Regions from separate parts of the Homo sapiens genome. Here regions 1 and 3 are each linked to region 2. Evidence: promoter capture Hi-C in human tissues and cell types (Jung and others, 2019). All regions are on one chromosome and are shown on one strand. The core of a region is centred on a gene start or on the middle of the fragment in contact, and the rest is flanking DNA. Distances in the headings are between cores, read along the strand shown. Region 1 holds the start of ACO2 (aconitase 2). Region 2 overlaps EP300-AS1 (EP300 antisense RNA 1). Region 3 holds the start of CSDC2 (cold shock domain containing C2).

What was found. The method cuts DNA at HindIII sites, captures the fragments that hold promoters and counts their contacts. A contact is called where the count stands out against the background at its distance.
Region 1: a contact is called between the fragment with the promoter of ACO2 here and a fragment that was not itself captured in region 2, in 1 of the 25 tissues and cell types used here (IMR-90 fibroblasts).
Region 3: the fragment with the promoter of CSDC2 here is called in contact with a fragment that was not itself captured in region 2 in 1 of the 25 tissues and cell types used here (heart left ventricle).

The regions. Positions count from the first base shown.
Region 1 is chr22:41,467,674-41,470,373 of GRCh38, forward strand. ACO2 (aconitase 2) reads left to right here and starts at 1,444. Exons shown (of 18, transcript NM_001098.3): 1 at 1,444-1,509. The coding sequence starts at 1,474. PHF5A (PHD finger protein 5A) reads right to left here and starts at 1,019. Exons shown (of 4, transcript NM_032758.4): 1 at 929-1,019; 2 at 451-474. The coding sequence starts at 980. RefSeq lists enhancers at 749-1,418, 988-1,549, 1,550-2,111. The HindIII fragment of the contact is 2,873 bases long and covers 1-1,874 here.
Region 2 is chr22:41,184,227-41,186,926 of GRCh38, forward strand. It overlaps EP300-AS1 (EP300 antisense RNA 1), which reads right to left. Exons shown (of 3, transcript NR_110514.1): 3 at 988-2,097. Among named protein-coding and RNA genes, the nearest start is that of EP300-AS1, 12 kb to the right of the region's middle. RefSeq lists an enhancer at 273-1,072. The HindIII fragment of the contact is 8,621 bases long and covers 1-2,700 here.
Region 3 is chr22:41,559,673-41,562,372 of GRCh38, forward strand. It overlaps CSDC2 (cold shock domain containing C2), which reads left to right and starts at 1,338. Exons shown (of 4, transcript NM_014460.4): 1 at 1,338-1,511. LOC105373044 (a long non-coding RNA gene) reads right to left here and starts at 1,211. Exons shown (of 2, transcript NR_134631.1): 1 at 1,048-1,211. The HindIII fragment of the contact is 6,219 bases long and covers 1-2,505 here.

The DNA.
Region 1 (2,700 bases), core at 194-2,693, 280 kb after region 2:
CATGGGGAAATATACTAGTCTCCTGGGAAATACACTAGTCTCCTTTTGACAGTGACTTTAGGGCCCTCCTCTTGGCATCACAAAACTTGGTTTCCCCAGTGTCCATCTCAAGCCCCTCAACACATACAAAAGTTTACCAATTAACATATGTGAAGAGCTTAGAAAAGCACCTCGGAGATGATAAGCCTGTATAATTGCTGGCAAAGTGCTGTGTGTTGGGGAGGGGTCATGCTACTCTGGCGATTCTTCCCGTTGAAAACTAGAGAGATACAGCGTTAAATGTGCAAGCGGCAGTGGGGAGTTAGAGGGGCCTTTGGCTAAAGTGCAGCATTCAGTGTTCACATACTTCCAGGCACATCTACTCAAAGCCCTCTTTGTGGCACTTTTGCTGGTTCCACAGAAAACTGGGAGTGGGAAGGGTGGGTTGTTGGGACGGTGTGTTCCACTCACATTTTTCACACAGTCTTCCGATGGCTGCAAGATGAAAGATGGTAAAAAGTACAATTAGAATAAAGGTTTTGAGAAAGAGGAGAAGTACATCCTCGAGCTGGGGGTAGGGACATGAGTAAGGACTGCAGTGAGTGAGACCTGCGGATAGCCATTTTATCATTACAAATTTCCATATGAACCAAACCTACATCCAAGCACCCTCCTGAATCTCCTCCAACGCCCTGGGCAAGCTCAGAGTTTCTCTGGACCTGGTTCAGACCCCACCCCCCGATACCTGCCTGGGGCTCCCAGCACGCGCACCCCCGCCCTCTTCTCATCAGAGGCCACAAACCTGCGCGCTCCTACAACACCCCGCGCCTGAGAGGCGGGAAACGTGGCGCCTGCGAGGCAAGCCCCTAAGGAAGAGACGGGAACCCCCGACCCCCCAGCTCCTAATACCACCCCTGCCCAGACAGCCAGGGGTAGGGCGCAGTCTCACCAACACCAGCCTGCTTGCGGCAAAAGATCAAATCAGGATGATGTTTAGCCATAGCTCCTAACTAAGCCGGCCACCGGAAGCTTCGGGAACTTCCGTCCGACCTTTAACCCCCATTGTTCCTGCCTCCACGTCGCTGTGATTGGTTCTCTAAGCTTCCGTCAGTTTACAATCCTTGCACCAGGCCCGTCTTGCTCTCGCGCGAGTTTTTGTCGCTGCTGGGCGGCCAGGTCCTGGCAGGTGCATGAAACTCTTAAAAACTCTCCCAGATTTGGATGGCGGAGATAACTAAAATTTGTTCTTGGGTAAAACATCTTTGTGCTTGGTATCTATTTCTGCAAGTGTCTTTGGGCAGTCCGATTTCCTCTTGCGTGTCTGTTCGTTGCACGTGAGCTCCGCCCATTGCGTTCACAGGGTTCTGGCGCCTCTAGGGAGGCCTCGCCTTCACCGTGACGCCCCACTCTTCCGGGCACGCCCCTGCCCAAAGGCTTTAAAGGCGCCGTGTGGGACGTCACTTTAATGCGACCTCATCTTTGTCAGTGCACAAAATGGCGCCCTACAGCCTACTGGTGACTCGGCTGCAGGTGAGCGAGCTCAGGGACCTCTGGGTTCACGGGGGCGGGGTGCCTCCTACTGTGCCGGCGGCTGTGGGCGAGGCAGGGCGAGGCGGGCCCAACCTGGGGCCAACTTCTCGTGTACCTGTCCCGGTTGTGGGCCCGGCACCCGTGCCCGCTTCTCTGGTGCCCTAGGTCAAGGCGTCCCCGGCACAGTCAGCTTTCCTGGCCCTGTCCCTGCCTCGCAAGAAGCGTGGGCCCAAGCAGCGGCGGCCGGGTGAAGAGCGGAGGCACCTCTTTCTTCTTTTTGAGGACAGCATTGCCTGCTCCCGTGGGGTGTGTTTCCATTCCTCAAGGTGAGGACAAGGTGACTAGGGGGCGCGGTCGTTGTTGAGTCTTCTAGGCCCAGTTCCTGAGGCCTCACTTCCCATCTCTTAGCAACAGAGGCATGACAGCATCTACGGTTGCCAGGCCTGGAGTCTGGAGAAGAAACTAGGACCCTGTACCACCTTTTGAGGACCCTGCGGAACGTGGAATGTCGGGGAGGGGGGCGGTCTTCTGGGCCCATACGTAGTAAATAATATAATAATAGTCTCTCACCTTTGCACAAGATTTGAGGCCTGTTTTAATTCTTCATAATATTATTTGATTCCTGTAATCGTAGGAATGAGGTGGTTTTTCTCATTTGATAGATGATAAAGCTGGTAGAAAGTAGGTGAAAGTTCTGATTCTCAAGAGTGTCACCGAAGTGCTGTGGCAGAAGCATGGGCCCTACCACCACTCAGTTCTTGTTTATGTCAGCCTGCCCTCACAGAACTTTATGAACCACGGTGCAATTATTTCTGTTTGTCAGAATGCAGTACGAATATTTTGAGCCTCACAATAAGTTGCTTGTCAAATATGGGAGGATAAGGAGACTCCAGTTTGACCTTGACTCCCCTGTTAGGAGCTATCTAGAAAGCTGACTGACTGCCAGATGATTTTTTCACTTCTAACTTGACAGCCCTGGGAAGGTGTTATACTCAGAGGTTCAATGTCAAATGTGTACTTTGTTAATAAAAATCAAGCAAGCATCTGTAGACATTCTCTGTCAACCTTTCACATTTAACTTTGTGAATTCCTTTTGGATCAAGTGGCGCAACTTTGATAATAGAATTTTACGAGTTGTTATGCGTTGTACTCTCAGGAAGCTTGTGGTACTTGAACTTATTTTTCATCACA
Region 2 (2,700 bases), core at 108-2,607:
AGCCAGGCATGGTGGCACGTGCCTGTAACCCCAGCTACTTGGGAGGCTGAGGCAGGAGAATCCCTTGGACCTGGGAGGTGGAGGTTGCAGTGAGGCCAAGATGGCACCACTGCATTCCAACCTAGGTGACAGAGTGAGACTCCGTCTCAAAAAAAAAAAAAAAAAAAAAATTAACAGGCTGAGCACAGTGGCTCACACCTGTAATCCCAGCACTTTGGGTTTGGGAGGCTGAGGCAGGAAGATCACCTGAAGTCAGTTCAAGACCAGCCTGGCCAATATGGTCACCTCTACTAAAAATACAAAAATTAGCTGGGTGTGGTGACACACGCCTGTAAGTCCCAGCTACTCGGGAGGCTGAGACGGGAGGACTGCTTGAACCCAAAAGGCGGAGGATGCAGGGAGCTGAGATCACACGACTGCACTCCAGCCTGAGCTACAGAGTGGACCCTGTGTCAAAAATTAAATAAAATAAAAAACAAAAGCCTATTTAAAAAATTTTTTTGTTTTCAGACAGGGTCTGTCTCCATTACCCAGGCTGGAGTACAGTGGCACGATCTCAGCTCACTGAAACCTCCACCTCCTGGTCTCAAGTGATCTTCCTGCCTCGGGAAGCTACTCAGCTTCCTGAGTAGCTGGGACCACAGGCACATGCCACCAAGCCTGGCTAATGTTTCTTTTGTTTTGTTTTTTGTTTTGTAGAGATGGGATTTTGTCATGCTAATCTTGAACTCCTCCCAAAGTGCTGGGATTACAAGCGTGAGCCACCATGCCCAGCTGAAAGGCTGACCCTAAAATACATATGAAAATCCAAAGAAGCCAGAACAGCCAAAATAATCTTGAAAAATAAAAACAAATTTGGAGCACTCACACTTCTTGATTTGAAAACTTACCATGAAGCTATAGTAATCAAGACTCTATGGTACTGGCATAAGGACAGACATTTAGATCACTGGAATAGATCTGACAATCCAGAAATAAATCCATACATTTATGGTCAATTGATTGTTTATAAGGTTGCCAAAATAATCCAATGGAGAAAGAGTAACATTTTTAACAGATACTTCTGGAACAACTAGACATCCACATCTAAAAGAATAAAGTTGGCCGGGCATGGTCGCTCACGCCTGTAATCCCAGCACTTTTGGGAGGCCGAGGCAGGCAGACCACGAGGTCAGGAGATCGAGACCATCCTGGCTAACATGGAGAAACCCCATCTCTACTAAAAATACAAAAAATTAGCCAGGCGTGGTGGCAGGCGCCTGTAGTCCCAGCTACTCGGGAGGCTGAGGCAGGAGAATGGCGTGAACCCAGGAGGCGGAGCTTGCAGTGAGCCGAGATCGCGCCACTGCACTCCAGCACTCCAGCCTGGGTGACAGAACAAGACTCTGTCTCAAAAAAAAAAAAAAAAAAAGAATAAAGCTGGAGGCCAGGCACGGTGGCTCACGCCTGTAATCCCAGCACTTTGTAGGGCAGAGGCGGGCAGATCACTTGAGGTCATGAGTTCGAGACCAGCCTGGCCAACATGGTGAAACCCCGTCTCTACTAAAAATTTAAAAATTACCATAGTGATGGGGCCTGTAATCCGAGCTACTCAGATGGCTGAGGTGGGAGAATCACTTGAGCCTGGGACACAGAGGTTGCAGTGAGCTGGATCGCACCATTGCATGCCTGCCTGGGCAATAGAGTAAGCCTCCATCTCAAAAATAAATAAAGTTGGACCCCTACCTTATACCAAATATAAAAATTTACTCAAAATGGATCATAGACCAAAACATAAACACTAAAATATTAAAATCACAGAAGAAAATATAAGTATAGGCCAGGCACAGTGGCTCATGCCTGTAATCCCAGCACTTTGGGAGGCTGAGATGGATGAATCACGTGAGGTCAGGAGTTAGAGACCAGCCTGGCCAATGTGGTGAAACCCCATCTTTACTAAAAATACAAAAATTAGCTGGGCGTGGTGGTGGGCACTTGTAATCCCAGCTACTTGAGAGGCTGAGGCAGGAGAATCGCTTGAACCCGGGGGGCAGAGGTTGCAGTGAGCCATGATCGCTCTATTGCACTCCAGCCTGGGTGACAAGAGTGAAACTCCATCTAAGAAAGAAAGAAAAAAAAAGAAAATATAGTTATAAATTTTCATGATCTTGGAATAGGCAATGGTTTCTTAGATATAACACCTAAAAAGCACAAGCAACCAAAGAAAAAACAAATTAGACCTCAAAACTTTCATGCATCAGAGGACATGACCAAAGAAGTAAAAAGATATACAGAATGGGAGCATATATTTGCAGATCACATATTTCTGTATCTAGACTATACTTAAAAATTTCGGCCGGGCACAGTGGCTCATGCCTGTAATCCCAGCATTTTGGGAAGCTGAGGCGGGCAGATCACCTGAGGTCAGGAGTTTGAGACCAGCCTGGCTAACATGGTGAAACCCCTGTCTCAACTAAAAAAAAAAAAAAAATTAGCCAGGCACAGTGGCAGGTGCCTGTAATCCCAGCTACTCAGGAAACTGAGGCAGCAGAATTGCTTAAACCCGGGAGGCAAAGGTTGCAGTGAGCCAATATCGCGCCATTGTACTCCAGCCTGGGTGACAAGAGCATGACTCAGTATCAAAAAAAAAAAAAAAAAAAAGGCCAGGCACGGTGGCTCACGCCTGTAATCCCAGCACTTTGGGATCACGAGGTCAGGAGA
Region 3 (2,700 bases), core at 88-2,587, 380 kb after region 2:
ATAATAATTCAGAACATCCCCAGGTAACCACAGGCAGCATTTCTCAACAGTCTCTCCTGCAGAACCAGAAACCCAGACTGTCTGAGCCTGATTGTCCTGAGAGGTTCTGGAAGGGCAGGGGCGTGTGGTGACACTGGGTGCTCCTGGGTTCCAGTACCTCTCTAGCCAGTTGGAAGAATATAGGCAAGTCAAGTCCTTCCTCCTCCCTGAGCCTCTAATTCCTCACCGGTAAAGTAGGGATGATAAAAATAAATTATTAAATTGTTGTGAGGTTTCAATGAGGGCAAAGCTTGCTGCCTGAAACAGAGCAAGCTCTTGTGGCGTCTTAGCTATTTGTATTAGTTACTTGTATTTTTCTCTGCGGTTTCCCTTTTAACTCCCACCTCCTTTTTATTTTAAAAAGACTCCTTTTGAAAATGCCAGCCTGCCTCAGTAGTACCAGGAGACACCAGGGAAAGGCTTCCTTCTTTCCAAGCTGAGGCTGAGAAGGAATGGGAAGAACGAAGAGAAGCACCTTTGTGGAGGCCTCCTCCAGCTGGCCCTGGGTTTAGGAACATCACACACTCAACCTCCAAAGGCCCTCAGGGGCTGGCCCAAGGTCACACAGCTTGACAGTGCGGAGCACTTCGAAGCCAGGGCGTGTGGTGTAGAACAGGCTGGGTGCCTGAATTCAATCAGCCCTCTCTACTTCTCTACTCAGAGCCTCCCAGGCTGTGGGGTGTTCACCTGTGCACCTTCAAGCCGATCACTTCCTTGGGGTCCTCGTCAATTCAATTCCATGGAAATATTACAAGGGGTAGACAGAGATGAGCCGTGTCAGTGTCTGTACTAGCAGAGGGCAGGACCACTGAGCGTCCGGAGGGGAGACGAGTGTCTGGGTGTCCCTGGGAACCTGGCTTGTCTCGACCCCTCTGGGGGGCTCCTCTTGGCTCTGACCTCCATTCTCCCAGACTCACCCCCACTCATGCCCACCCACCCCGAGGGGCCCCCCAGTGTGCACTCACACACTCACACTCAAACTCACCACCCCACTTGCTCTCTAATTACCAGGAACGTGGCGCTGTCTCAGGTTCTTCCTCCCCTGCATTCCTCAGCAGCTGCCCTCACTGGGCAGGGCAAATTATACCGTGGCCCGACCATAAAAGCCACTTTCCAAAAAAAGAAGCTTTAAGGCCCCCGAGAGACGCAGCTGAGCCTCTCACCTGGCAGTGCCTGACTCAGGAGGTGATGTCTGGGCCATGAGCCACAGAGCCTGGTGTCCCTTTAAGCAGGGAGTACAAATTCTCATCCCTCCCTCCTGCTCTCCCTGACGTCAGCTGGAAGGCGTGTGAGTGAGTGAGGGGCTGAGGTACCGCCCGCGCGAGCACACACAGACACACACACACACACACACACACACACACACACACATCTTCCAGACCCATCCCCTGCCTGCCAGCTCCACGAGCCAGAGAGAGACAGAGCGCGGACGCCGCAGGAGGCAGTGCCTGGACCCCAGCTGCCCAGGAGAGGTGAGGGGCTAGATGGGGCCTGAGGACACTGTGCCAGAAACTGTGGCTTTGGCCAGGCCGAAGGAGAGAGGTACAACGTGAAGGTGGGGGCTGGATCAGCCCAGTTCAGCTTACAGATAGGGTGTTGGGGGTATAGAGGATACCACCTGTCTCTCCCTCCCTCATTCTCTCCCCGTGACCCCCAAATGAGGTGAGGCCGTGTGGCTCCCGTGGGAGCATGTCTGTGTCTGTGTCTGTGTCTGTGTCTGGGACCTGCGTCTGGCTCAGGAGGCAGAGAGCAGCAGATACCTGCCAAGCCGCAGCCTCCTGTCTGGGAAGCAGCGGGAGAGAGGACCGCCTTGACCAGAGAAACCCCAGTGCCGCTTCCAGTTGCTGAAAGCAGAGTGCAGCAGGGACCCTTGCTGGTCCTTCCCCTGGAATGTTGGGCTGGGAAGGGACCGGCTGGGAAAGGCAGACAGTTGGACCTGGAGCAGCTGTCTTATCCTGACTCTATTTTTTCCCCAGTGTGATGGGGATAATTGTGTTAGTTGGCTTAGAGAGGTGGCTCCGTGTGGTTATTCTCTTCCCCCAGGTACCACCCCACCCCGAGCCCTTGCTTCTTGCCTGCCTGCTGGTCTGCTCTGACCTCCACCCTTGCCAGGGCACAGCCCCCGGAGGGCAGGGGTGATAAGTCAGGGCCTGCCAGGCCTCTATCTTGGGATACAGGGACTTAGGGTGGCCTTGGCTGGTGCCAAGCCCATGAATGGCCTGACCCTGGCACAAGGAGTCCAGGCGGAGATAAGGGGCGACGCTGGCACCCACAAGGAGACAGCAGGTTCCTGCCAAGCTGCCAGCCTGCAGGCTCTTCCCAGGGAGAGGGGAGGGGGACACAGAGCGAGAACAATAATAAATACAGAGTGTGAACTGCTGCATCCACTGGGGCTGGGGTAGGAGAGGAGGAAGTATGCCCAGTGGGGGGTGGGCAACCTCTCTGAGAGCCTGGCATCATGCTGCCTGGCTGTGATCCGGCAGGGGCCTCTCCCTGGGAAAGGGGGTCTCCAGCTTTCTGGGGGATGGGGAACTGGTTTCCCAAACCTGACTCCATCCCAGAGTCCTCTGGACCCTCCAAATTCTGAATGTTTCCTCCTCCCAGCTTTGCCCTGCCGCCCCCCATTTCCTTGAAGTCTTCTCCAAAAATGTCTGTTTTCTG